Linked DNA regions of Homo sapiens: all the other regions are linked to region 4. The links are contacts of gene promoters, found by promoter capture Hi-C in blood cells and fetal thymus (Javierre and others, 2016). All regions are on one chromosome and are shown on one strand. Each heading gives the region's core, a stretch centred on a gene start or on the middle of the fragment in contact. The rest is flanking DNA. Distances are from core to core; before and after follow the strand shown.

Region 1 (7,560 bases), core at 1,844-4,343, 200 kb before region 4:
AATTTCCTTCAACCCTGCCACTGAGTTACCCAATTTCTTTCTCCAGAATCAATCACTTAATTTTTTTGTTTTAGATGGAGTTTCGCTCTTGTTGCCCAGGCTGGAGTGCAATGGCGCAGTCTCCGCTCACTGCAACCTCCGCCTCCCGAGTTCAAGCAATTCTCCTGCCTCAGCCTACCGAGTAGCTGGGATTACAGGCATGTGCCACCATGCCCGGCTAATTTTGTATTTTTAGTAGAGATGGGGTTTCACCATGTTGGCCAGGCTGGTCTCGAGCTCCTGACCTCAGGTAATCCGCCGGCCTCGGCCTCCCAAAGTGCTGGGATTACAAGTATGAGCCACCATGCCTGGCCTTTTTTTTTTTTTTTTTTCCAGATATAGTCTCACTCTGTTGCCCAGGCTGGAATGCAGTGGCACAATCATGGCTTACTGCAGTCTCAACCTCCTGGGAACAGGTGATCCTCCCACCTCAGCCCTCTGAGTAGCTGGGACTAGAGGTGTGCACCACCACACCTGGCTAATTTTTTGTATTTTTTCTAGAGACAGTGCTTTGCCGTGTTGCCCACACTAGTCTTGAACTCCTGGGCTCTAGCAATTTGTCCACTTTGGCCTCCCAGTGTTGGGATTACAGGCGTGAGCCACCATGCCCAGCCTGTTACCAATTTCTTATATATCCCTCTGGTAGTATTTTAAAAAATAGATGTACATAAATCTTCCCTCTTTTTAAACATAAATGGTAGCACATTGTATACTCTTCTGCATCTTGCTTTTCTCAGAGTGCCATGTTTTAGATAAAACCATAGTGTAACACTCATGCTATACAAAATGGGTCCATTAGTGGGAGAAAGGGAAATGTTTGCTTCACAGAAGCTTCCTTACTTTTGTAGAAGGACTCAGGCAGGATCTTGAACAGAGACCCATGTGAATTTGTCTCTGTGTGAGATCTCTGTCCCTCTCTGTGTTTGTTTCTTTAGGGTGTGCCTTAGTCTGATCTGACTGCTATAATAACAAAAACTAGGTAGCTTATAAACAACAAAAATGTATTTCTCACAGTGGAGGCTGGGAAGCTGGCAAATTCAGTGTCTGGTGTGAAGGTTCAAATACTGGTTCAGGAATAGCCATCTTTTTGCACCCTTGGTGCAAAGGGTAAGGGGTCTTTCTTGGGCCTTTTTTTTTTTTTTTTTTTTTTGAGACAGATGGAGTTTCACTCTTGTTGCTCAGGCTGAAGTGCAATGGTGCAATCTCAGCTCACTGCAACCTCCACCCCCTAGGTTCAAGTGATTCTCCTGCCTCAGCCTCCCGAGTAGCTGGGATTACAGGCGCCTGCCATCCCACCCAGCTAATATTTTGTATTTTTAGTAGAGATGGGGTTTCACCATGTTGGCCAGGCTGGTCTCGAACTCCTGACCTCAGGTGATCCGCCTGCCTCAGCCTCCCAAAGTGCTGGGATTACAGGCATGAGCCTCCGCACCCAGCCCTCTCGGGCCTCTTTTATAATGCACTAATTTCATTCACGAAGGCTCTGCCCCCGTGACCTAATCACCTGCTAAAGGGCCCACCTCCTGATACCACTTAGGGGGTTAGGATTTCAACATATGAATTTTTAGGGGTACACAAAGATTCAGAACACAGGTGCAACAACAAGAACAGTGACCTGGGAGGCCACTCTTGCTCACTACCACTCAGGTGGGTTCTTGTCACTTAGACCTAGAGCAACCATGTAATTTTAATATCCAGAGTTAGGCAAACCTCATGCCAGAACAACAGTCAGAAACCCAGACGGTGTTAAGGTAGCCTGGATGTCTGGTCCCCCTGCTGAGACTCCCTGAGCTTCAGTTTCTTGACCTGAAAATGGACACATGAACTGGGTGTCCTAAGAAGGAAGGAACCTTATGAAATAATTAAGAAAAGCCATAAACACTTGAGCAAATTATGTGAAAATGGTAATTGGTTGTATAAAGAAAGAGAAAATAAAGCAGCAGTTTTTGAACTGGTGATGTCATTCTTGCCTGTCACTGAGGCCCTAATCCAATGCCCCAGGGAGAGGGGGAGAAGAACAGAGTGTGTTCAGGGGAAGGGGTGGATTGTCTTTTATGAGGTTCACCAGGAAACAAAATGAGTTCATTTATTGGAGTAATCAAGTTTTAGGTACACACACAGGTTATATATTCTGGAATGTTACTATAACCCACTTTACGGCACAGAAATAGTAAGGGGGACTCCTTGGCTTCTAAGGAAATTTTTTTATGTGCGTACCCATAAATTGCTGAAGACAGCTGCTGTAGCTTCCACTAAGGTGATGCATGTAGGTACTAGAACAGATGTTAGTATGAAAGATGAAAGGTATCAGGTGGAAGAGACCCAGAGCAGTAGACAGACTGAATTCAGGGCCGGCGCTGTGGCTCATGCCTGTAATCCCAACACTTTGGGAGGCTGAGGCAGGTGGATCACCTGAGGTCGGGAGTTTGAGATCAGCCTGACCAACATGGGAAAAACCCCGCCTCTACTAAAAATACAAAATTAGCCAAGTGTGGTGGCGCATGCCTGCAATCCCAGCTACTCTGGAGGCTGAGGTAGGAGAATTGCTTGAACCCGGGAGGCGGAGGTTGCAGTGAGCCAAGATCGCGCCGTTGCACTCCATCCAGCCTAGGCAACAAGAGCAAAGCTCCGTCTCAAAAACAACAACAACAACAACAACAACAACAAACACACACAGACTGAATTCAGGAAGGCATTGTGCCAGTGTCCTGTGCTCCACCCTGCCTTGGAGTCCTGAGTGGAAACCAGTGAGTCGGCCAAGCTGTGCTAGAATGCCAGATCTGTCCCTGAATGAGAACTTAAATAAACTCTAGGGTTTATTTAAAACCTGGTACCAAAAGGAAAACAGACAGTGTTTGCCCTAATGAAAAAAATCTTTTTCAGAAAGCGTCTCTGTCTCCCATTCCTTTCCTGAATTTGATCCAAACTATGACTAGTGTTCTCAACAGAGGGCAAGTAGGGATGTTTGGGAACGAGTGATGGAGGAATTTCCTTCTTTCTTTAGAAAGGTCTGTATCTTCTGTGCAAAATACTACAGGCAGAGTGCCAGGCTTCAAACTAAGGAATAAGTAGGACTTAGTTAACTGACCTGGAGTTGTGTCTGGAGCAGAAGAGGCTCTCACAGGGACAGCTTTCTCTTTTGCTGAGCCATAAACTCCCTGCAGAAGTGACCTGTGGCAGAGGCCTGTTAGTAAATATCCCTGTTCATTTTAAAACACCAACCTCAAAGCCAAGAGTTTGGAGGAGGGAGAGGGGTTGAGGAGTTGTTGGTCAAAGGATACACACTTTTAGTTAGATAGGAGGAATAAGTTTTTTGATTTTTTTTTTTTTTTTTTGTCTGCTTGTGGGCTTGTTTGCTTTTTTTTTTTTTTTAGACAAGGTCTTACTCTGTTTCCTGGGCTGGAGTGCAATGGAAATCTTGTCTCATTGCAGCCTCGACTTTCCTGGGCTCAAGCGATCCTCCCACTTCAGCCTCCTGAGTAGCTGGGACTACAAGCACACACCACCGCACCTGGCTACTTTTTCTACTTTTGTGGAGACAGGGTCTTGCCATGTTGCCTAGGCTTGTCTTGAACTCTTGAGCTCAAGTGATCTTCCTGCCTTGGCCTCCCGAAGTTCTGGGATTACAGGCCTGAGCCACCTTGGTTGGCCAAGATAGGAGAAATAAATTTAAGATAACTGTAGTACTACACAATGACTATAGGTGTTTAATAACAATGTATTAGGCCAGGCGTGGTGGCTCATGCCTGTAATCCCAGCACTTTGGGAGGCTGAGGCAGATAGATCACTTGAGGTCAGGAGTTCGCGACCAGCCTGGCCAACATGGTGAAACTCCATCTCTACTAAAAATACAAAAATTAGCTGAGCATGGTGGCACACACCTGTAGTCCCAGCTACTCAGGAGGCTGAGGCAGGAGAATCACTTGAACTCCGGAGTCAGAGGTTGCTGAGCCGAGATTGCGCCGAGATTGTGCCACTGCCCTCTAGCCTAGGCAAAAGAGCAAGACTCAATCTCAAAAAAACAAAACCACTGAAAACTAATGTATTGTATTCTTGAAAATTGCAAAGAGAGTAGTTTTTTTTTTTTGAGACGGAGTTTCGCTCTTGTCGCCCAGGCTGGAGTGCAGTGGTATGATCTCAGCTCACGGCAACCTCCTTGTCCTGGGTTCAAGCGATTCTCCTGCCTCAGCCTCCCGAGTAGCTGGGATCACAGTCACCCACCACCATGCCCAGCTAATTTTTGTATTTTTAGTAAAGACAGGGTTTCACCATGTTCACCAGGCTGGTCTCGAACTCCTGACTTCAGGTGATCCACCCGCCTCAGCCTCCCAAAGTGCTGGGATTACAGGCGTGAGCCATTGTGCCTGGCCTACAATTTTATATGTATCAATTAAAATTAGTTAATTATTTAAGAGGCCAAGTGTTTCAGAAAAGAAGGGAGGAATCAACATTTTCTTCTGTGAAAATGCAAGTTCTCCCTTTCATAATACATAACTTGTGTTGTTGTTGACTTGTGCATATGATACATAATCACAGAATTCATTTGTTTATACGACAGATGTTTATTGAGAGTGTAGTGTGTGCCAAGCATTGTACCCAGCACTGGGGCCACACTGGTGAGTAATCTGGCCGTGGTCCCTGTTATGGCATTTACAGCTGTGGAGAAGGAAGATAAGAAAGAAACAATCCAATACATGTAAAAGTATAAATTCTGTTGAATCTGAGAGGAAGAGAGCAGGTAAACGAATAGAGAATAATGGGAGGAAGAGGGTAGGAGAGGGTAGTGGTGTTGTCAAAGGAGGCTGGGGGAGGATTTAGTTTTCTCATAATTTCCAGCATCCAGGCCATCTGAAATAAAGCAAACATAGTTTAATAGACAACACAATTTTTTTTTTTTTTTTTGAGATGGAGTCTCATTCTTTCACCCAGGCTGGAGAGAAGCGGCACAATCTTGGCTCACTGCAACCTCTGCCTCTCGGGTACAAGAGATTCTCCTGGCTCAGCCTCCCAAGTATCTGGGACTACAGGTGTGCGCCACCACACCCAGCTAATTTTTTGTATTTTTAGTAGAGACGGGGTTTCACTGTGTTAGCCAGGATGGTCTCAGTCTCCTGACCTCATGATCCACCTGCCTTGGCCTCCCAAAGTGCTGGGTTTACAGGCATGAGCCACTGCACCCAGCCAGCAACACAAGTTTTTAGACAAGTGTGAGACCAAGTAGCAAACATAAGCTATGTTTGCCCATTTCTGCTTGCCAGCATAATTTTCCAAAGCTTCTGACTCTGTGAAGACCTGCAGCTCTCCAGAAAGATGCTTTGAAGACAACAAAACAGAATACACAGCCCCCATGTCTCTTGTCCTCTTGCCGGAGTCACTGCATTCCTTAAAAGATGAATGACCTCCAGCCTGGGCAACATGGCAAAACCTCATCTCTACAAAAAAATACAACAATTGGCTGGGCGTGGTGGTGTGCACCTGTAGTCTCAGCTATTTGGAAGGCTGAGGTGGGAGGATTACCTGAACCTGGGGAGGTTGAGACTGCAGTGAGCCATGATTGTGCTACTGCATGCCAGCCTGGGTGATGGAGTGAGACCCTGTCTCAAAAAAAAAAAAAAAAAAAAAAAAAAAAAGAATGGCCTTAATCCCTGGCTTTTCCTATACATAAGATGACATCTGACGGGGTTAGTGATGATGCCTCTGTGATCTAGGACCAGATGTACTCTGACACACAAATCTTGCTGTGATTCTGCTTTCATGTAATTCTGAGCAAGTCTGATGGGATTTTGCACATACAGAACCTCCACCCCTATATATAAGCAGGGATCTGAAACACTGGGCCAGAGCCTGCTCCTAGGCTAGAGGCCTCAATCTATAGTCTTCAGCAAGACTTCTGAATAAAGTTAACTTTAATTCTTTAAAAGCTTGATATTTTTCTTTACTTGATGGAAGTCTGCTGGTTTCCCTTCCAACCACATGGCCATGCATAAGCCCCCCTCTTTTTTTTTTTTTGAGACAGGGTCTCGCTGTGTCACCCAGGCTGGAGTACAGGGTACAGTGATGTGATCGTGTCTCACTGCAGCCTTGATCTCCTGGACTCAAGCAATTCTTCCGCCTCAGCTGCCTGAGTAGTTGGGACTACAAGCATATGCCACCGCATTCGCCTAATTTTTAAAATTTTTGTAGAGACAGGGGTCTCACTATGTTGCCCAAGCTGGTCTAGAACTGTGTTCAAGTAATCCTCCTGCTTCAGTCTCCCAAAGTGCTGAGATTATGGCCGGGTGTAGTGGTTCATGCCTGTAATCCCAGCACTTTGGGAGGCCGAGGCAGCAGGATCGCTTGAGGTCAGGAGTTCAAGACCAGCCTGGCCAACATAGTGAAACCCCATTTCTACTAAAAATACAAAAAGTAGCCGGGCATTGTGGTGCGCACCTGTAGTCCCAGCTACTCAGGAGGATGAGGCAGGAGAATCGTTTGAACCCGGGAGGTGGAGGTTGCAGTGAGCCAAGATCATGTCACTGCACTCCAGCCTGGGTCACAGAGTGAGACTCCATGTCAAACAAACAAACAAGCAAACATACCCAAAGTGCTGAGATTACAGGCATGAGCCACTGCACCCGGACTTCAGCCTTTTCTCTCCTTTTTTTTTGAGATGGAATCTTGCTCTGTTGCCCAGGCTGGAGTACAGTGGTGCAATCTCAGCTCACCACAACCTCCGCCTCCTGGGTTCAAGCAATTCTCCTGCCTCAGCCTCCCAAGTAGCTGGGACTACAGGTGTGTACTACCACGCCCGGCTAATTTTTGTATTTTTAGTAGAGATGGGGTTTCACTATGTTGGCCAGGCTGGACTCGAACTCCTGACCTCGTGATCCACCTGCCTTGGCCTCCCAAAGTGCTGGGATTACAGGCGTGAGTCACCATGCCCATCCTAGCCTTTTCTTTATAGAAATTCCAGAGCTGTGAATTGTCTGCCAGCCACAGAAGATGACCATTGTCTTGGGGTTACTGGATTCATCAATGAACCATACATATGTTGGGCACCTTTTATGTGGCAGCTACAAAGAAGCAAAGAATAAGACTGACATGAAACTTGCTTGCGTCACTTTACACTCTAAGAGCCTCTTCCACCACTGTTAAACCATTTCTTCTGACCCCATGAGGCCAACTTTTCTTCCCCTTAGCAGAAAGTAAGCCCTTTGTTAGACCTCAGCAGAAGAGGGTGACCAAGGCATAACAGCCTGAAAGAGACCTCATGAAGACAAACAAGAAGTTATGATTAATAAAAACCTCTGTCAAGGCCAGGCGCAGTGGCTCACACCTGTAATCCCAGCACTTTGGGAGGCTGAGGTGGACAGATCACCTGAGGTCAGGAGTTCAAGACTAGCCTGGCCAACATGGCGAAACCCCGTCTCTACTAAAAATACAAAATTTAGCCGGTGTGGTGGCGGGCGTCTGTAATTTCAGCTACTTGGGAGGCTGAGGCTGAAGAATCGCTTGAACCCAGGAGGCGGAGGTTGCAGCGAG
Region 2 (7,106 bases), core at 4,342-6,841, 150 kb after region 4:
GGTTATTATAGAATTTGTTATTTCACAAATGAAATGTAAAAATTTTATTTTTGTCCGCCCCCCCAAAAAAATAAATAAATAAAAATGACCCAAAAAAGTGATTAAGGATATACAGCAATTCTGAGTTAGAAGGTTAGGATTTGAGTAAAAAATAATAGAAACAAGAAATGGAAGATGGGGAGCCCATTTAAGTAGAGATATTTGTTCTGTTAAAAAAAATCTACACATCTGATTTCTTTTCTTTTTTTTTTTTTTGAGACGGAGTCTCGCTCTGTCGCCCAGGCTGGAGTACAGTGGCGCGATCTCGGCTCACTGCAAGCTCCACCTCCCGGGTTCACGCCAGTCTCCTGCCTCAGCCTCCCGAGTAGCTGGGACTACAGGCGCCCGCCACCATGCCCACCTAATTTTTTGTATTTTTAGTAGAGACCGGGTTTCACCGTTTTAGCCAGGATGGTCTCAATCTCCTGACCTCGTGATCCGCCCGCCTCGGTCTCCCAAAGTGCTGGGATTACAGGCGTGAGCCACCGCGCCCGGCTACACATCAGATTTCTAATGAAATCTGTTGAGTGAATGTTCCTGATGATAGTCTTTGCAGGGTTCTTGTCTTTGTGAGCCGAGAAGACTCCCAAGGATGCCTTGGTTTATTTACTTCCCCTCTCTTTACCTTTAGTTTTTATCTGCCCTAATTGTATGGTTGAGTGCTTTCTCTCCACTGTTAGCAGCTAGCTGATTTCATTTCTGGTTTTTTTGCAAGCAACAACTGTCACTGCATGATATAGGTTGGGTTAATTTTTCCTTTGAATTTACCGGTGACTTGGGCTCATTAACCAGGCGGTCACAAGTGCTGTACAGTAACAGGCTTTCTGTCCCTGTAGAATGGGATGCTTTGTTTTGAAGTGCCCTTGAGACAATCTTAATCTGTAATAACAAAGGAACCTAGAAATCATGTCTTTGAAAATAGACATGTGGTCATTATTTATGATTATAGCAAACTTTAATTTACTGGTACTAATAGTGAGGCTCCATGGTATAGTTAATCACAAAAGTTTATGTTTGGTTCTGGAATTTCTCACGATGTTTCTGGACACCAATTGCTATTCCAGGGATATTTTATTTAGACTGATCATTTAATTGGATTTTAGTCCCTGACAGAGTGGAGGGACAGTTCACAAAAGGGGAAAAAAAAATCAATGGATATATAAAATTTCACTCTCACAAATAAGAAAAGAATTCAAATATATGTAAATGGAAATTATTTACTAATTTCTATCTTAAGTTTTTTTTTTGGCGGGGGACAGGATCTCACTGTCGCCCAGGCTCGAGAGCAGTGGTGTGATCATGGCTTATTGCAACCTCAACCTCTGGGCTCAAGCCATCCTCCCACCTCAGCCTCTCAGGTAGTGGGGACTACAGGTGTGTGTCACCACACCTGGTTAATTGTTTTGTATTTTTCGTAGAAACAAGGTTTCACCATGTTGCCCAGGCTGGTCTTGAACTCCTGGGCTCCAGCAGTCCACCCACCTTGGCCTCCCAAAGTGCTGGGATTACAGGTGTGAGCCTCCACACCTGGCCTTAAGTATTTTTAATGATCATAATTAATTCTGGGGAAAATATGGAAAAATGGGCATATGGCTGATAGGAACATAAATTGGACAGCCTTTCTAGCAAGTAGTTTGGTAACATATTTTAAGCCACTTAAGAAGCTTTTCCAGGGCTGGGGGAAATGGAGAAAGAATACTAATGGGTATGGGTTTCTTTTGGAGTGATGAAAATGTTCTGAAATTACATAAGGCTATTAGTCGTACAGCATTGTGATTTTTTTTTCATCTCTGCTGCTGGCAGATGAATTGAAAGAGAATTTTATCGTATACAAACCATTATCTCAATAAAGCTATTTTCTTACTTTTTTTTTTTTGAAACGGAGTCTTACTCTGTGGCCCAGACTGGAGTGCAGTGGCATGATCTCAGCTCACTGCAACCTCTGCCTCCCAGATTCAAGCAGTTCTCCTGCCTCAGCCTCCCAAGTAGCTGGGACTACCGGCGTGCACCACCATGTCTTGGCTGATTTTTGTATTTTTAGTAGAGATGGAGTTTCACCATGTTGGCCAAAGTGGTCTTGAACTCTTGACCTCAAGTGACCCACCTGCCTCGGCCTCCCAAAGGCTGGGATTACAGGTGTGAGCTACGGTGCCCGACCAATAAAGCTATTTGTTTAAAATAGTTAATGCCTTTGACCCAGTAACATGCTCAGTGATGTATAGTTCAGCTTTTATTACATCAAAAAATTGGAAACTTTTGGCTGGGCGCAGTGGCTCATGCCTATAATTCTCAGCACTTTGGGAGGCCGAGGCAGGCAGGTCACCTAAGGTCGGGAATTCAAGACCAGCCTGACCAACAATGGAGAAACCCCATCTCTACTAAAAATGCCAAATCAGCCGGGCATGGTGGCGCATGCCTGTAATCCCAGCTACCTTGGGAGGCTGAGGCAGGAGAATCCGTTGAACCTGGGAGGCAGAGGTTGTGGTGACCCGAGATCGCGCCACTGCACTCCAGCCTGGGCAACAAGAGCAAGACTCCGTCTCAAAAAAAAAAAAAAAAAAAAAGTTGGAACCTTCTTAGTTTATTTTTCGTTTATTTTTCTTTTCTTTTTTTTTTTTGAGAGAGTCTCGCTCTGTCTGTTGCCCAGGCTGGAGTGCAGTGGCGCGATCTCGGCTCACTGCAAGCTCCGCCTCTCAGGTTCACGCCATTCTCCTGCCTCAGCCTCCCGAGTAGCTGGGACTCCAGGCGCCCACCACCACTCCCGGCTAATTTTTTGTATTTTTTAGTAGAGCCAGGGTTTCACCGTGTTAGCCAGGATGGTCTCGATCTCCTGATCTCGTGATCTGCCTGCCTCAGCCTCCCAAAGTGTTGGGATTACAGGCTTGAGCCACCGTCTTAGTTTATTTTATTTTATTTGAGATGGAGTCTTCCTGTGTTGCCCAGGCTGGAGTGCAGTGGCACAATCTCAGCTCACTGCAACCTCCGCCTCCCGGATTCAAGCAGTTCTCCTGCCTCAGCCTCCTGAGTAGCTGGGATTACGGGCACCCGCCACCATGCCTAGCTAATTTTTGTATTTTTAGGTAGAGATGGGGTTTCACCATGTTGGCCAGGCTGGTCTTGAACTCCTGATGTCAAGTGATCTACCTGCTTCAGCCTCCCAAAGTGCTGGAATTACAGGTTTGAGCCACTGCGCCTGGCCCATTCATTGTTTTTTTTGAGAGAAGGTTTCACTCTGTCACCCAGGCTAGATTGCAGTGGTGTGATCATGGCTCACTGTACCCTGGAACTCCTGAGCTCAAGTGATCATTCCACCTCATGGCTGATGAGACCACAGGAGTTCATCACCACATCAGGCTAATTGTCTATGTATTATGTGAAAAAGTTTTAAAACCATAGTGTTTTTATATGTGAATTTTTTAATGAAGAGAATAGCCTGTCTTCACACTTTTTAGAGTACATATGTGGATAATGGATCATTTTAAAAATATTTTATTATGGAAAGCTTAAAACATGTGTAAGTAGGCAGAATAATATTGTGTGCCACCATGTACATAATATTATTTTTTTCAATTCCTGGCCAATTTTGTGTCTTCCATACCCCAGTTCTTTTCTACGTCTTCCTTATTGTTTGACACAAATTATTGATGTGTCATATCATTTAATCTAGGTATTTCAGTATATTTTTCTGAAAAAGAGACTTTAAGAAACATCTGCCATCATTATCACATGCAAAAAATTAATGATTCTAGTCAGTGTTCACATTTCCAATTTTCTTATAAATGTCATAAATGATACTTTTTTTTTTCTTTTCGAGACAGGGTCTTGCTCTGTCTCCCAAGCTGGAGTGCAGTGGCACAATCAGAGCTCACTGCAACCTCAACCTTCTGGCTCTAGCAATCCTCCCACCTCAGCTTCCCAAGTAAATGGGAGTACAAGCGTGCACCACCACACCTAGCTAATGTTTTTCTTTTCAGTAGAGATGAGGTCTTGCTGTGTTGCCTAAGCTGGTCTCAAACTCTTTGACTCAAGTGATCCTCCTGCCTCGGCCTCCCAAAGTATTGGGATTACAGGCTTTAGGTACCACATGTGGCCTGTTGTGTGTGGTTTTATTTGTTGTTTTTTTTTTAAACTCTTTTTTTCCCCACAAACCAATTTGTTAGTGTTTAGGTGGTTTTTTCTGTTTTGCTTTTTTGTTTTTTGAGATAGGGTCTCGCTCTGTCACCCAGGCTGGGGTACAGTGGCACGATAACGGCTCGCTGCAACCTCAGTTTCCCGGACTCAAGCTGTCATCCCACCTCAGCCTGTTGAGTAGCTGGGATTACAGGTGCCCGCCACTATGCCCAGCTAATTTTTTGTATTTTTAGTAGAGACGGGGTTTCGCCATGTTGGCCAGGCTTGTCTCGAACTCCTGACCTCAGGTGATCCACCTGCCTTGGCTTCCCAAAGTGCTGGGATTACAGACGTGAGCCACCATGCCTGTACTTTTTTTTCGATAAACATGAATTCATGTTAGTTGTATAATTTTTTTTTTTTTTTTTTGAGACGGAGCCTTACTCTGTCACCCAGGCTGGAATGCAATGGCACAATCTCAGCTCACTGCAACCTCTGCCTCCTGGGTTCAAGCGATTGTCCTGCCTCAGCCTCCTGAGTAGCTGAGATTACAGGCATACACCACCACGCCCGGCTAATTTTGTATTTTTAATAGACATGGAGTTTCTCCATGTTAGCTAGGCTGGTCTCAAACTCCCGATCTCAGGTTATCCACCCACCTAAGGCTCCCAAAGTGCTGGGATTATAGGCATGAGCCACTGTGCCCAGCCAACAACCCTATTTCAATTTTTCCAGCCTACCACCTAAAGGATACTGTGACTATATGTAAGATTAAAGAATAAAAGCAGTTTAACAGAAATAAGCCTCTAGAGCTGCCTCAGGCCATTGATCTTCTCTCTAAAGCCAGTGCATCATCCCAACAAACAAGCACATTTAACAAGGCCAAGGAGAAGAGCTCTAGGGTTTCTTGCTCCCCAGTGCTGCTGCTTCCCTTCCCCAGCAGCAGCACATGGCATCGCTGTTTTCTCCAGAGTACTTGAAAGGGCTCTCTAGGGAGGCTTGCCAGACTGTTGGCAATTTCCCCTTCCCAGAGCACGATTACTAACACAAATAGAAACTAGGGTAGGGAAAGGATATTAAGCTCTCCTAAGAAGGTTGGTTTTCCAGAGATGATGGCAATAAAAACATATCCCTTATAATAAACTGGTAAACATTAAAAAAAAAAGACTGTTTTCTAAGACCTGGACTATTTAAATTGCTTGTTACAGCCCTTACCTTCCATTCTTATAAGCTATGCTTCAATTCAATTCAACATACCTTTGAGTACCTGTTACATGCCAAGGCCTTGTGGTAAGAAGCCCAGTTACAGAAAAAAATAAGACACAAACTTTACTCTCAAGTAAATTCATGTGTGTTTGTGTTCACGATATAACGTGACAGGTAATAATAACAAACAGGAAGATATCTAAGCTGTGATTTGCAAGATAAATGTTAAGGAAATGGGGCCGAAAGGTGTGGTAAGAGAGAGAAGACATTCAGATAGGGAAAACACCAATCTAGTAAGATACTTAAGGAATTGCAAGTAGTTTGATAAAACTGAAATATAAAAAACAAAGGGAGGGAATCAGTGTGGGGAGAGAGGCAGGATCCAGATCATGAAGGCCCTTTTATGACGGGGTAATGGGATTTCATCCTGCAGATGAAGATAAGCCAATAGTTTCATAAAGGGTATATTTTCTGGGTCTTGAAGGCTAAAATTGTGAGCATCTTCCATAACAAGATTAATCCTTGTCCATAAATCAATTTTAGTCCCAGATTTATCTTTTTTTGGAACAAGCCACAATAATAACTTCAGAGGAAGAGGCCGGGTGCGGTGGCTCACGTCTGTAATCCCAGCACTTTGGGAGGCTGAGGCGGGTGGATCATGAGGTCAGGAGATCGAGACAATCCTAGCTAACATGGTAAAACCCCGTCTCTACTAAAAATACAAAAAATTAGCCGGGCGTGGTGGCGGGCGCCTGTAGTCCCAGCTACTCGGGAGGCTGAGGCAGGAGAATGGCATGAACCCGAGAGATGGAGCTTGCAGTGAGCCGAGATCGCACCACTGTACTCCAGCCTGGGCAACAGAGCGAGACTCCGTCTCAAAAAAAAAAAAAAAAAAAAAAACTTCAGAGGAAGAAGAGTTTTCTTTGTGGTATAAAATAACGTTTCTTGGCCAGGCGCGGTGGCTTATGCCTGTAATCCCAACATTTTGGGAGGCTGAGGCGAGCTGATCACTTGAGATCAGGGATTCGAGACCAGCCTGGCCAACAAGACGAAACTCCGTCTCTACTAAAAATACAAAAATTAGCTGGGCGCAGTGGCGCACACCTTAACCCCAGCTACTCAGGAGGCTGAGGCAGGAGTATTACTTGAACCCTGGAGGCGGAGGTTGAAGTGAGTGGAGATCTGTGCCACTGCACTCTAGCCTGGGTGACAGAGTGAGACTCTGTCTCAAAAAAAAAAAAAAAAAAAAAAAAAAAATATATATATATATATATATATATATATATATATATATACACACAAAATATATATATACACAAAAATATATATACGAAATATATATATATATATATACACACACACACACACACACACACACAAAATAGATTCTGGCTGGGCGCGGTGGCTCATTCCTGTAATCCCAGCACTTTGGGATGCCGAGGTGGGTGGATCACAAGGTCAGGAGATCGAGATCATCCTGGCTAACATGGTGCAACCCCGTCTCTACTAAAAATACAAAAATTAGCTGGGCGTAGCGGTGCATGCCTGTAATCCCAGCTACTCAGGAGGCTGAGGCAGGAGAATTGCTTGAACCTGGGAGGCAGAGGTTGCAGTGAGCCAAGATCACGCCACTGCACTCTAGCCTGGCGACAGAGCTAAGACTCCGTCTCAAAAAAAAAAAAAAAGAAAAAATAGATTCTTCTGGCCAGGTACAGCGGCTCATGCCTCTAATCCCAGTACTTTGGGAGGTC
Region 3 (6,975 bases), core at 2,045-4,544, 180 kb before region 4:
TTTCACTGGATTAAGAAAAAAAGAAACATTAGTTAAGAATAAAACAAAACACAGTTACCTGCCAGGTTTTTTTTTTTTTTTGCAATTGAGTCTTGCTCTCTCACCCAGGCTGGAGTGCAGTGGCAACGATCTCAGCTCACTGTAACCTCCAACTCCCGGGTTCAAGAGATTCTCCTGACTCAGCCTCTCGAGTAGCTGGGACTACAGGCGCCCGCCACCACACCTGGTTAATTTTTTTGTATTTTTAGTAGAGATGGGGTTTCACTGTTTTAGCCAGGATGTTCTCAATCGCCTGACCTTGTGATCCATCCACCTTGGCCTCCCAAAGTGCTGGGATTACAGGCGTGAGCCACTGCGCCCGGCCAAAAATGTTTTTTTAAAAAGAAAAGAAATTAGTGAAAGCATGAACTTTGGAGTCCACAGTTTTCACCCTGCCATTTTGATTGTGTGTTTTAACTCAGGTGACAAGGTGACATTTTCTCATAAATACATTTAAATCAGCATTCTACCAACACTGATGACTTTTCATTAAAACTCTATAAATTGCAGATTAATACACAAAACCACAAAGCAGAATAGTACAACTGACTCTTTTTTTTTTTTTTTTTTTGAGACAGAGTCTTCTTGTCTTGTGGCCCAGGCTGGAGTGCAGTAGTGCAATCAGAACTTATTGTAAACTCTAACTTCTGGGCTCAAAGGATTCTTCTGCCTCAGCCTCTCAAGTAGCTGGGATTATAGGTGCAAGCCACCACACCAGGCAATTGACTTTTAATATTTCTCACGTTTCTTTTTAACCTTTAGAGAAATCTCTGATGTATCTGATGAAATTTTTGTCTGCAGTTCAGTAGCTCTTTCAGTTTCATATTGATTTTTGATACTCTCTTCAAGAGGCATTGATGGATCTAGAAAAAAAAAGGTTTTTCATATTCTCAGTATTCTTTTTTTTTTTTTTTTTTTTGAGATGGAGTTTCACTCTTGTTGCCCAGGCTGGAGTGCAATGGTGCGATCTCGGCTCACTGCAATCTCTGCCTCCCAGGTTCAAGTGATTCTTCTGTCTCAGTCCCCGAGTAACTGGGATTACAGGCATGTGCCACCATGCCCAGCTAATTTTTGTATTTTTAGTAGAGACGGGGTTTCATCACATTGGTCGGTCTGGTCTTGAACTCCTGACCTCAGGTGATCAGCCCACCTTGGCCTCCCAAAGTGCTGGGATTACAGGCGTGAGCCACCACGCCCGGCCTACTTCTTTTTTCAAAATGTTAGCTTCAGTTATTTGTTTCTTTTGTAATTTCGTATTTTTGTGTTTTTTTGTAGAGATAGAGTCTCCCTATATTGCCCAGGCAGGTCTTGAACTCCTGGGCTCAAGTGATCCTCCTGCCTCAGCCTCCCAAAGTGCTGGGATTACACATGCGAGCCACTGTGCCTTGGCCCTCAGTTATTTCTGGATGATGAGATTGGAGTGATTTTTAGTTTCATCTTTATACTTTTCAGTAGTTTCCAACATTTCTGAATGAAATGATCTTCTTTGTAATTCATTTGTGTGATACTTTTCTAATGACAAAAAGCAAGATAAAGAGCCAGGTATGGTGACGTGCACCTACGTAATCCTAGCTGCTCAGGAGGCTGTGGCAGGAGGATCACTCAAGCCCAGGAGTTCGAGAGCAACCTGAGCATCATAACAAGACTCTGTCTCAACAAAAAAAATTAAGTTAAAATACTCTGTCAGAGCAATAAAGACCTTAAACTTCCCAAATGTCAACTCAGTAAAACAACAACAAAGTTCCCTGAGACTCTCTCAGTTATGATTTTACTCCCGAAGCAGTCACTGTCTTGGAAGGATGACTGGCTCTCAGGAGGCTGCCTCAAACGATGCATGTGAAATTCATGTAGGCTTCCAGTGTGTGTGTATGTGTGTTTTGGGGTTGTGTTTCCTGCTGTTTATAACAGGAGGATAGTCTGGTCAACCAGAACAAGGAGACCAAGCCAACAGACATCACCATCAGCAAAGGGACGGTATAATGGCGGTTGGCAAGGCAAATGAGGGCTAGTAAAGGAAATGCAATTATAGTGAGGGTGAAGATTAAATCTCTATGCAGGAATATTGCAGATAAAATAAATGAAAACAATTATATCTTTTTTTTCTTTTATAGAGAGGGGGTTGCGGTATGTTACCCAGGCTGGTCCTGAACTCTGGGTCTCAAGCAATTCTCCCGTCTTGCCTTCTAGTGTTGGGATTGCAGGCATGAGCCACCGGGCCTGGCCTGAAAATATTTTATATTGAATAAAAAATTACAACATAGAGTTCAATTGGAAACATTATTGTGAACCCATAAGCTTTAAGAGAAATATAATTTCCTGGCTCTGACCCTAAAATACAGTTCATTAACAGCATTTCTTTTTCTTTTTCTTTTTTCTTTTTTTGAAATGGAGTCTCGCTCTGTTGCCAGGCTGGACTGTAGTGGCTCAATCTTGGCTCACTGAACCTCTGCCTCCCAGGTTCAAGTGATTCTCCTCCCTCAGCCTCCTGAGTAGCTGGGATTATAGGCATCTGCCTAATTTTTGTATTTTTAGTAGAGATGGGGTTTCACCATAATGGCCAAGCTGGTCTTGAGCTCCTGACCTCATGATCCACCTGCCTCAGCCTCCCAAAGTACTGGGATTACAGGCGTGAGCCACCATGCCCTGGCCACAGCATTTCTTTTCCTTCTTCTTTTTTTTTTTTTCCTTTTTGAGATGAAGTCTCTCTCTGTTGCCCAGGCTGGAGTGCAGTGGCATGATCTCAGCTCACTGCAACCTCCGCCTCCTGGGTTCAAGCAATTCTCCTGGCTCAGCCTCCTGAGTAGCTGGGATTACAGGCACACACCACCACGCCCAGCTAATTTTTTGTATTTTTAGTAGATATGGGGTTTCCCCATGTTGGCCAGGCTGGTCTCGAACTCCTGACCTCAGGTGATCCTCCTGCCTCAGCCTTCCAAAGTGTTGGGATTACAGGCTAGGCCACTGCACCTAGCCCATTAACAGCATTTCTTCTGCTAACCTCCCACTCTCGTGCACCCATCAAAAGGAAATGAGACTTCTTAGTGGGTGGCTGATTCTGTGTCTTGGAACAAGGAAAATTTGGAATGGGCCTAGAACACAAGGATTTTAGGCCAGCAATGGTAGAAGGATAAGGAAGCCACTGTCCAAATTGCAACAATTTGACATCAAAAAAGGAACATAGTAATTATGTTTATTTATAATTGACAATTATGATTAAAATAAGTTCAGTGTGTGAAAGACCTCAAAATAAAAAAAAGTTGATATATGATTTTCTGATATATGACATATGATTTTTCTCTGCTTTTATGATATTTGAAGCATCATAAAGGGGACGCGGAGCTGGAGTGTCACAGGGGCTGAGGCAATGTAATTGGTTAAGCCACCAGTAGGGTGTGTGATCACCAACAAAAAGAAAAAGTCCTACACTGAAAGCCCATGGGGTTGAAGCAGGATTTGGTTCACGCTAGAACTTCTGAGAGTCAGTGTGTATCTTGATAAACAGCAACAGAGCTTAGTCATGAGTTCCCTGTAACTGGCTGCTCAGAGAGTTTGCTCCCCACCTCCTGGGGAGAACTTACCTGGGAAGAGGCCAATGTTTCTATCTAAGCCTGTCCCGTCCTCTGAGTTTCCAACCTTCTAATTTCACGTTGGGAGTGCCTCCGAACATGTTTTTGCTGAGTCATTTGTGGAGCTCTAGAATTGTTGAACCTATCATTTGTTTTCCAAGTTAGGGGCAAACAGTAATATATTGCTCATTTATTATTCAACCAAGATATCTGGAGTCCTCCTCATGTGTTAGGCCAGGGCTAGGCACAGGGTTTAAGTGCAAGAGTGAGCAAAGCAGGCATGGAGCTGCACTCATGGGGCCTAGTCTAGTGGGGAAGACGGACATGATCCAAATAATCACAAAGTGACGTTTGGTAGAGAGCAAAGTAAAAGGGGTGCTTTGGCAGGCCCAGAAGAGGAACTTGATCATGACTCATGGTGGGTGGGCAGGGAGGCTTCCTTGAGAAAGTGATACCAATGTGGAGGACTGAATTATGTGAAGAGGCAGAAGAGTGTTCTAAGAAGGGGGGTGTGTAAAAGCCCAAGCTCGGAGGAGGGCTGGAGTGTGTTGCATTGGAGGAACCAAGATGACATTGGCTGTGCTTTGTGGAATGAGGTGAAGGAGACCAGGTGAGGTGCGGTAGACAAGGTCCAGCTGAGGTAAGCTTTCAGAGGCCATATAAAGATTTTTTTTTTTTTGGTAAGAGCATTATTGAGATATAATTCACACACCACAAAATTCACACATTTAAAATGCACAATTTGGTAGCCAGTTGAGGTAGCTCATGCCTGTAATCCCAGCACTTTGGGAAGCAGAGACAGGTGGATCACTTGAGGCCAGGAGTTCAAGACCAGCCTGGCCAACATACTGAAACCCCGTCTCTACTAAAAATACAATTAGTTGGGTATGGTGGCACATGCCTGTAATCCCAGCTACTTGGGAGGCTGAGGCAGGAGAATCACTTGAATCCAGGAGGTGGAGGTTGCAGTGAGCTGAGATTGCGCCACTGCACTCCAGTCTGGGGCAACAGAGAGAGACTCCATCTCAAAAAGAAAAAAAAAAGAAAAGAAAAGAAAAGAAATGCTGTGGCTGGGGTGCGGTGGCTCACACCTGTAATCCCAGCACTTTGGGAGGCCAAGGTGGGTGGATCACTTGAAGTCAGGAGTTTGAGACCAGCCTGGCCAACATTGTGAAACGCCATCTCTACTAAAAATATAAAAATTAGCCTGGTGTGGTGGTGGGTGCCTGTAATCCCAGCTACTCGGGAGGCTGAGGCAGGAGAATTGATTGAACCTGGGAGGCGGAAGTTGCAGTGACCTGAGATCACACCATTGCACTCCAGCCTGGGGGATGAGAGCAAAACTCTGTCTCAAAAAAATAAAATAAAATAAATAAATAATGTACAATTCAGCCGGGCATGGTGGCTCATGCCTATAATCCCAGCACTTTGGGAAGCCAAGGTGGGAGGATTGCTTGAGGCCAGGAGTTTGAGATCAGCCTGAGCAACACAGTGCAACTTCATCTCTATGAAAAATTAAAAAGTTACCCAGGCATTGTGGTATCTACCTGTATTCCCAACTACTCTGGAGGCTAAGTTGGGAGGATCTCTTGAGCCCAGGAGGTTGAGGCTGCAGTGAGCTATGACCATGCCACCGTGCTCCAGCCTGGGTAATAGAGTGAGACTCTCTCAAAAAAAAAAAAAAAAAAGAAAGAAATTAAAAAAAGAAAAAAATACAATTCATTGGTTTTTAGTATATTCACAGAGTTGTACATAACCACAGTCAATTTGAGAACATTTTCGTCACCCTAAAAAAAAAACCCTGCAGCCTTCAGCAGTCACTCTCCATTTCCCCCAAACATCTAGCCTTAGGCAACCACCAATCTACTTTCTGTCTCTATGGATTTGCCGATTCTGGACATTTCTATAAATGGAATTATATGGTATGTGATCTTTTGTGCCTTGCTTCTTTCACTTAGTATAATGTTTTCAAGGTTCATCCACACTCTAGCATGTATTCATACTTCATTCCTTCCATGGCCAAATAATATTGCACTCTATGGCTAGGCTATATTTTGTTTATTTATCATTAGTTGATGGACATTCAGGTTGTTTCTGCTTTTTAGCTATTATGAATAATCCTGCTCTGAATATTCATGTACAAGTTTTTTTCCTTTTTAAAATTTATGTATGTATTAATTTAAAAATGGAGAGATGGGTAGAAAATAAAAGATGAAGGAAAAAGATACAAAAAGAAGTGAGACCAGACAGGGTGGCTCACTCCTGTAATCTCAGTACTTTGGGAGGCCGAGGCGGGTGTATTACTTAAGGTCAGGAGTTCAAGACCAGCCTGACCAACATGGTGAAACCCAGTCTCTACTAAAAACATAAAAATTAGCCATATGTGGTGGTGTGTGCTTGTAATCCCAGCTACTCGGGAGGCTGAGGTAGAAGAATTGCTTGAACCTGGGAGGTGGAGGTTTCAGTGAGCTGAGATTAAGCCACTGCATTCTAGCCTGGGCAACAGAGCAAGACTCCGTCTTAAAAAAAAAAAAAAAAAGCAGAAATGAAAAAACACACAAAAAAGCAAAAAATAAAGACGGGGGTCTCACTACGTTGCTCAGGCTGGTCTTATATTCCTGGACTCAAGCAATCCTATCTCTTCGGCCTTCCAAAGTGCTGGAATTACAGGCATGAGCCACGGCGCCTGGCCAAGTTTTTCATAATAAAGATTTATATCCTAAGAACAGTGATAATCCATTAAAAAGTTTCAAGCAAGAGTGTGATATCAGATTTTGGGTTTAAAAAGATCACTCCATCAGTCTTCTGGTGAATGGATATGAAAAGGGCGAGAGTGAATGCAGGGAACATTTACGAAGCCCATTGCAGCTGGACTCGTTGGTTCACACCTGTAATCCCAGAACTTTGGGAGGCCGAGGCAGGTAGATCACCTGTGGTCAGAAGTTCTAGGCCAGCCTGGCCAACATGGTGAAACCCCGTCTCTACTAAACATATAAAAATTAGCTGGGCGTGGTGACATGGGCCTGTAATCCTAGCTACTTGGGAGGCTGAGGCAGGAGAATGACTTGAACCTGGGAGGCGGAGGTTGCAGTGAGCCAAGATCAGCCTGGGCAACAAGGTGAAACTCCGTCTCAAAAAAAAAAAAAGAAAAAAAGAAGGCCATTGCAGGCCATTGCCATTGATGGTGGTGACTTTTATCTGGGGTAGGCAGCAGTAGAAATGGCAAGAAATGGCAGATTTTAGAGATATTTAAGGGGTAAAAGTAAGAGGATTTGATGGATGGAGGATGGATGGGAAGGAGGAAGATAGCGTGTGGATGGATGGACTTACCATTCACTGAGATACAGAATTGTAGAGATGACCAGGTTTG
Region 4 (6,545 bases), core at 2,576-5,075:
CAGAGGCCTCCAATTTAAAGCAAGATGAGCAACTGGAAGCCAGGAGTGACACAGTTATTCCCTTCTCCCATTAACTGCCTGGGGGTGGGGCCGGGAGGAGTGGGGCAGGGGTGATTGTACTGTTTTTCAAAGGTCCAGTTGCTGACCACTTGCCAGCAGTTTTTCTACGAATTTACAGGACAAAGACCTGAAGGGTTGCAAAAGAAAAAGAATTGTAGAAGAAGAGCTAGCTAAAGTTTGGCTGATAATGTCTCAGGAAATGTCAGCTAAGAAAGGGTCTGGTCTCAGGAAAAACTCTCTCATCACAATAAGGAGGAAGCAACTGGCAAACAAATTTTCCTCCAAGAACCTCACGCTTATTGGTGGTGTGGAAAGTTGTTTTTATTATTATTGTTAGTATTATTGAGACAGGTTCTCATTCCATTGCCCAAGCTGGAGTGCAGTGATGCAATTATGGTTCACTGCAGTATTGACTTCCCAGACTCAGGCGATTTTCCCACCTCAGTCTCCTGAGTAGTTGGGACTACCGGCCCACACCACCATGCCTGGCTAATTTTTTTGTGTTTTTTGTAGAGACGGGGTTTCATCGTGTTGCCCAGGCTGGTCTCAAATTCCTGAACTCAAGCAATCTGCCTGCCTCATTCTCCCAAAGTGCTGGGATTACAGGTGTGAGCCACTGAGCCTGGCTGAAAGTTATTTTTGTAATCCTTCCATGAATGAGGGTTACTAAGCCCTGTGTGTAGTCCTATCATGGTGGAGGTGAAAGAGATATACAGTGTAGTAGTGAGTGTAAAGTGATACTGAAGTTGAAGGGCTGGGAAATCCAGGAGGGCTAGAAGGTTTAATGAAGAGAGGGAACTTAGGTTAGGCTGTAGATCAGATTCTGATCTACAGCTTTGGCATAAATCCCTTCAACTTCCTTTCCACCTGAAAATATTTCTGTAACCATACTTTGTTATGTCAAAATGTCTTTGTATCTACTCTCTTGTTATTTGGCATCTTCTCCTAAGGCAGTGTTGTCCACTTCTGTGGCTTCAGTTACCATCAATATGTTGATGGTTTCCAAATCTCTCACTAGTCTCTCTCCTGACATTCAGATCTTCTGGACAGCTCTCCCTAGCTAAAGCCACAGTCTTTCTCCCAACAATTATTAATGTTGTGCAGTGGCTCTCAAACTTCACTACACATTGTAATCACCTGGATGCTTTAAAAACTCTTGAAGCTCAGGCCATACCCTAGATCAATTAATCAGACTTTTGGGTGTGGGAGGTGGGCATCAGTAGTTTTAAAACTCCTTGGCTGGGCACGGTAGCTCACGCCTATAATCCCAGCACTTTGGGAGGCCAAGGCGGGCGGATCACCTGAGGTCGGGAGTTCAAGACCAGCCTGACCAACATGGAGAAACCTTGTCTCTACTAAAAATACAAAATTAGCCAGGCATGGTGGCGCATGCCTGTAATCCCAGCTACTCGGGAAGGCTGAGGCAGGAGAATCGCTTCAGCCTGGGAGACAGAGGTTGCGTGCGGTAAGCTGAGATCGCGCCATTGCACTCCAGCCTGGGCAACAAGAGTGAAACTCCATCTCAAAAACAAAGTTCCCCAAGCTCCCCAAGTGTGAGCCAAGTTTGAGAACCACTTATCTTGAAGGCAGCGGGAACAGAAAGGAATGCCAGTATAAAGGAATATTTTCCTTGATTTGGTAGTTAAATGGATAGGGGCAAGGGAAAAACAGCAAAGTTTTTATATAAGGAAAAGAACACTAAATCTGGTTGGAATCCAGCGACCTGAGTTTAAGACCTGACAGAATTATTCATCTGTGTAAGGCAAGTCTTCTAACTCCTTTAGGCCAGAATAACCTGATGTGTAAACTGAAGTTGCCCTACGTACTTCATACAGTTGTTATGAAGATTACTTGAAAAAATGAACATTATAAGCTTTTCTAATTATACACTTTGAGACAAAATCAAAATCAAGATGTTATTATTTTGCATTTTAATTTGTAATTTTAAAAATTTATATTTTGAAATAATTTCAGATTTAATAGAGTTGCAAATATGGTAGAGTTCCTATATGTCCATCAAACTTCCTCAATTACAATGATTAAAACCAGGAATAAGATTGATAAAATACTATTAATTAATCTAGAGATTTTATTCTAATTTCATCAAATTATCCCACTGGTGTTCTTTTTCTGGACCAGGATTCAAGCCAGGATCACACATTACATTTAGTTGTCATATCTCCTCAGTCTCCCAATCTGAGATGGTTTCTCACCCCTTGTCTTTCATGATCTTGACACTTGAAGATACTGGCCAGTTATTTTGTAGATTGTCTCTCATTTTGGATTTGTCTGATGTTTCCTCATAATTAAATTCAGCTTATGCAGGCTGGGCATTGTGGCTCATGCCTGTAATCCCAGCACTGGGAGGCAGAGGTGGGGGGATCACCTGAGTCAGCAGTTCGAGACCAGCCTGGACAACATGGTGAAACCCCATCTCTACTAAAATTACAAAATTTGCCGGGTATAGTAGTGCATGCCTGTAAACCCAGCTACTTGGGAGGCTGAGGCAGGAGAATCGCTTGAACCCAGGAGGCAGAGATTGCAGTGAGCCGAGATTGCACCATTGCACTCCAGCCTAGGCAACAAGAGTGAAACTGTCTCAAAACAAACAAACAAACAACACGCACAAAAAATCAGCTTATGCGTGTTCGTCAAGAATACCACAGAAGTGATTTTGTGCGCTTCTCATTGCATCATGTTCAGAGGGACCTGGTAAGAATACCTCTCAGCTGGGGGCAATGGCTCATGCCTGTAATCCCAACACTTTGGGAAATCAAGGTGGGAGGATGGCTTGAACCCTGGAGTTCAAGACCAGCCTAGGCAACACAGCAAGACCCTGTCTCCTTAAAAAGAAGAGGGAGGCCGGGCGTGGTGGCTCATGCCGGTAATCTCAGCACTTTGGGAGGCCGAGGTAGGCAGATCACTTGAGGTCAGGAGTTTGACAGCAGCCTGGCCAATACGGTGAAACCCCATCTCTACTAAAAATACAAAAATTAGCCGGGCGTGGTGGCACGAACCTGTATTCCTGGCTACTTGGGAGGCTGAGGCGGGAGAATTGCTTGAGCCCGGGAGGGAGAGGTTGCAGTGAGCCGAGATCGCGCCACGGCACTCCAGCCTGTGTAAGTAACAAAGCGAGACTCCGTCCAGCCTCGCCCCCCGGCAAAAAAAGAAGAAGAAAACAATACCTCTTATCACTAGTGATGCTAACTTTGATCACTTAGTTAAGGTGGTGTCTGACAGATTCTTATCTGTAAAGTTGCTATTTTTTTCCCTTTGTAACTAGCAGGTGTCTTGTGGGGATTTATTTCGATACAAGGCTATAATTTTGATTCTAAGTGACTAGAAAACTATGAACAGAAATAGGGAGATCAGACATAAATAAAGGGCTTAGAACCCATAGACCGGTGTCTGGAGAACTGGTAGGGGTGAAGCATCGGTATGAAGGTGATCTGGGTTGGCTTCAAACGCTGAAGTGAGATGTGGCTTGTCACCAGCGCGTGGGGATGGCAAATCCGCTGAATAGGGTCTTCAGGAAGATATTAGTGGCTCTGCGAAGGTTTCCCCAGAGCCCTTCCCCTCCCCTGCCAGCGCCGCTTTGGAAGCCGTCTGGGAGGCTGCACCCGCCAGGACTCCTGAGTGCGGGGTTTTGGCGGCAAATGACAGTAGTGCGTCCGCGCGGCACGGGTAAGTCAATGCGCACGCGCCGACAGGAGGCGCGGGGCGGGGCACGGCGCAGGGGTGGGGCCGCGGCGCGCATGCGTCCTAGCAGCGGGACCCGCGGCTCGGGATGGAGGGTGAGTGAGTAAACAAGCCTGGGCCGGGCGGTGGGGCCGGGCCTCCTCCCCTCGCCGCCCTGGGCCTGAGGGAGGGAGAGGCGGAGGGATCAGGAAATTGGAAGGAATCCGAGGGACACACTGCCTGCCTGGCCGGGGGTAGCAGGCGCCCCTCCTCATTCCGAGGGTGGGGGAATGGGGGCGACGGGGCGAGAGAGACCCAGGCGAGGACAGCGTCTGGGGCTGCGAGGGCTGTGTGCCCGGGAGGAGGAGCGGCGGGGGCGGGCTCGGGGACGGGGAATCCCGTTGGATGGCGGTGTGGGCCGGTGGGCGGGAGCCCCAGCGCCCAAAGGGCGCGGGAGGGCGGTGGCACCTGCGGGGGCCTTTAGCGAGGTGGACTCTGGGGACCTGGAGCTGTGCTTGGGGAGGGCTAGAGACCGGGGCTGATCTTGCGATGGCTTTCGGGGATGTTGAGGAGGGGTAGCAGTAAAAACAAGGCCGGGACTAGGGTGAGGTGAGTAAGGCTCCCAAGGCACAAAGTGTAAAGGAGCACTGACTCAGGGTCGCGCAAGTGCAGTGAGCGCCTCCTCACGTGCGTCCTGGGTGCCTCGGTCGCCTCACCCCAGGCCTGGCCCTGAGCAAGAATCTCCTTCACTCCAGACTTTTGGTCTCACGCCAATGATCGCTCACCCCCACCATTCAACCGAGGATCAAATGATATAAATAAAAGTGCCTTGAAGCACAGACAAGGTGTTGTATTTGGGACATGCCTGTTAGGAAATGTGGGACAAACTTTTATTTCAATAAAAAGTGACTACTGAGGAATTGTTTCTTGAGCAGGGAAGGGAAGGGATACCTGAAGGATGTTAGTGCCCCCCGTGGAATGTGAAGGAATATGGAGGGTGAAATACAGGGTTGTATGTGATGTAGCCCAGGCCGATAGGAACCTGACGCTTGGCAGGGGAGGATGAAAGCAAAGGAGCTCAGGTACACTAACAATTAGGTGGGTGCAAGGATGGCAATGAAAACGCGAGTCTCCTCCACGTTTGCTGCCATACTGCCGCTGAATAAAAAAATTCCCACACCCCATGTTTTTTAAATTTAGGAAACTGATATTGAAGGAGGTTTCCAGCCTGAGAAGGTGCTAACCCTATTAGAGGTTTCTGTGAAAGCTTGTCTATTTTAAGTCTTGGAATCCCCAGATATGCCACTGATAAAAGAGATTACTTACATAGGAGAGAGTGTGTGTTAGGAGATAAGTACTTTAGACTGGGCTCGGTGGCTCATATCTGAAATCCCAGCATTCGGGAGGCCCAGGCAGGAGAATAGCTTGAGCCCAGGAGTTTGGGACCAGCTCAGGCAACAATAGCGAGACCTCATCTCTACAAAAAAAAAATAGCCAGATGTGGTGGCCTTCTCCTATAGTCCCAGCTGCTTGGGAGGCTGAAGCAGGAGTATTGCTTGAGACTGGGAGGTCAAGGTTGCAATGAGCTCTGATCCTGCCACTGCACTCCAGTCTGGGTGACAGCACCTGAGACCCTGTCTCAAGAAAAAAAAAAAAAGCCTGGCACGGTGGCTCATGCCTGTAATCCCAACACTTTGGGAGGCTGAGGTGGACCGTTCACTCGAGCCCAGGAGTTTGAGACCAGCCTGGGCAACATGGGACAACTCCATCTCTACTAAAAATACAAAAATTAATCAGGTGTGGTGGCACACGCCTGTAGTCCCAGCTACTCGGGAGGGCTGAGGCATTAGAATCGCTTGAACCGGGAGGTGGAGGTTGCAGTGAGCCGAGATTGCACCACTGCACATCAACCTGGGCAACAGAGTGAGATTCTGTCAAAAAAAAAAAAAAAAAAAGGAGGCCTGGCACAGTGGCTCAGGCCTGTAATCCCAGCACTTTGGGAGGCCAAGGCAGGCGGATCACTTGAGGTCAAGAGTCCGAGAGCTGCCTGGGCAACATGGCGAAACTCCTTCTCTACAAAAATACAAGAATTAGCTGGGCGTGGTGGTGGGTGCCTGTAATCCCAGCTATTCAGGGGGTTGAGGCACGAGAATCGCTTGAACCTGGGAGGTGGAAGTTGCAGTGAGCCGACATGCACCACTGCATTGCAGCATGGGTGACAGAGCAAGACTCCATCTCAAAAAAGAAAAAAAAAAGGGAGAGAGAAGTACTTAAAAACGCACATACATAATAGGAGAAAGGACTATCTATAAAACTGTAATAATGCTATCATTGTCAAGGTTTATGCTTATTGTTGTGTGTCACAAACATAATGAATCAACTCCAAAGGCAGGGATATATGTTTTATTCATTGATGTACCCCAAACACCTAAAATGGTAACACATAGTAGATACTACTATTAAGTATAATAGTAGGTGCTCAACATATATTTGTGGAATAAATAGTGGGGAAATTTCTGGCACTGGGAGTCAGGTGATCCGGATGCTAGTATTGTCAGTAACTGGCAGAGTACTTGTATGCTAATCGTGGAACTTGATGCTAAGGCCCAGCTTAAAATTCCTTAAAGTGTAAATGACTTCTTCATTATGATGGTTACATTAGTGCCCTTTGAAACAGCACTAGAGGCTGGGCTGATGGCTTACACCTATAAGCCCAGCACTTTGGGAGGCTGAGGCTGTTGGATCACCTGAGGTCGGGGAGTTCAAAACCAGCCTGGCCAATATGGTGAAACCCCATCTCTACTAAA

The links. The method cuts DNA at HindIII sites, captures the fragments that hold promoters and counts their contacts. A CHiCAGO score of 5 or more calls a contact.
Region 1: a contact is called between a fragment that was not itself captured here and the fragment with the promoter of EZH1 in region 4, in 1 of 17 cell types (endothelial precursors). The highest score is 5.3, in endothelial precursors.
Region 2: a fragment that was not itself captured here is called in contact with the fragment with the promoter of EZH1 in region 4 in 1 of 17 cell types (erythroblasts); the score reaches 6.3 in erythroblasts.
Region 3: a contact is called between a fragment that was not itself captured here and the fragment with the promoter of EZH1 in region 4, in 2 of 17 cell types (endothelial precursors and erythroblasts). The highest score is 7.9, in endothelial precursors.

Annotation. Positions count from the first base shown.
Region 1 is chr17:42,941,492-42,949,051 of GRCh38, reverse strand. No RefSeq gene overlaps it. Among named protein-coding and RNA genes, the nearest start is that of AARSD1, 19 kb to the left of the region's middle. The HindIII fragment of the contact is 4,442 bases long and covers 873-5,314 here.
Region 2 is chr17:42,597,126-42,604,231 of GRCh38, reverse strand. All of the region lies in intron 1 of RETREG3 (reticulophagy regulator family member 3), which reads left to right. Among named protein-coding and RNA genes, the nearest start is that of RETREG3, 8.7 kb to the left of the region's middle. The HindIII fragment of the contact is 4,096 bases long and covers 3,544-7,106 here.
Region 3 is chr17:42,925,887-42,932,861 of GRCh38, reverse strand. It overlaps the pseudogene RNY4P2. Among named protein-coding and RNA genes, the nearest start is that of G6PC1, 29 kb to the right of the region's middle. RefSeq lists enhancers at 3,798-3,947, 3,837-4,413. The HindIII fragment of the contact is 1,916 bases long and covers 2,337-4,252 here.
Region 4 is chr17:42,742,320-42,748,864 of GRCh38, reverse strand. EZH1 (enhancer of zeste 1 polycomb repressive complex 2 subunit) reads left to right here and starts at 3,825. Exons shown (of 21, transcript NM_001991.5): 1 at 3,825-3,854. RefSeq lists a silencer at 3,668-4,247. The HindIII fragment of the contact is 3,072 bases long and covers 1,936-5,007 here.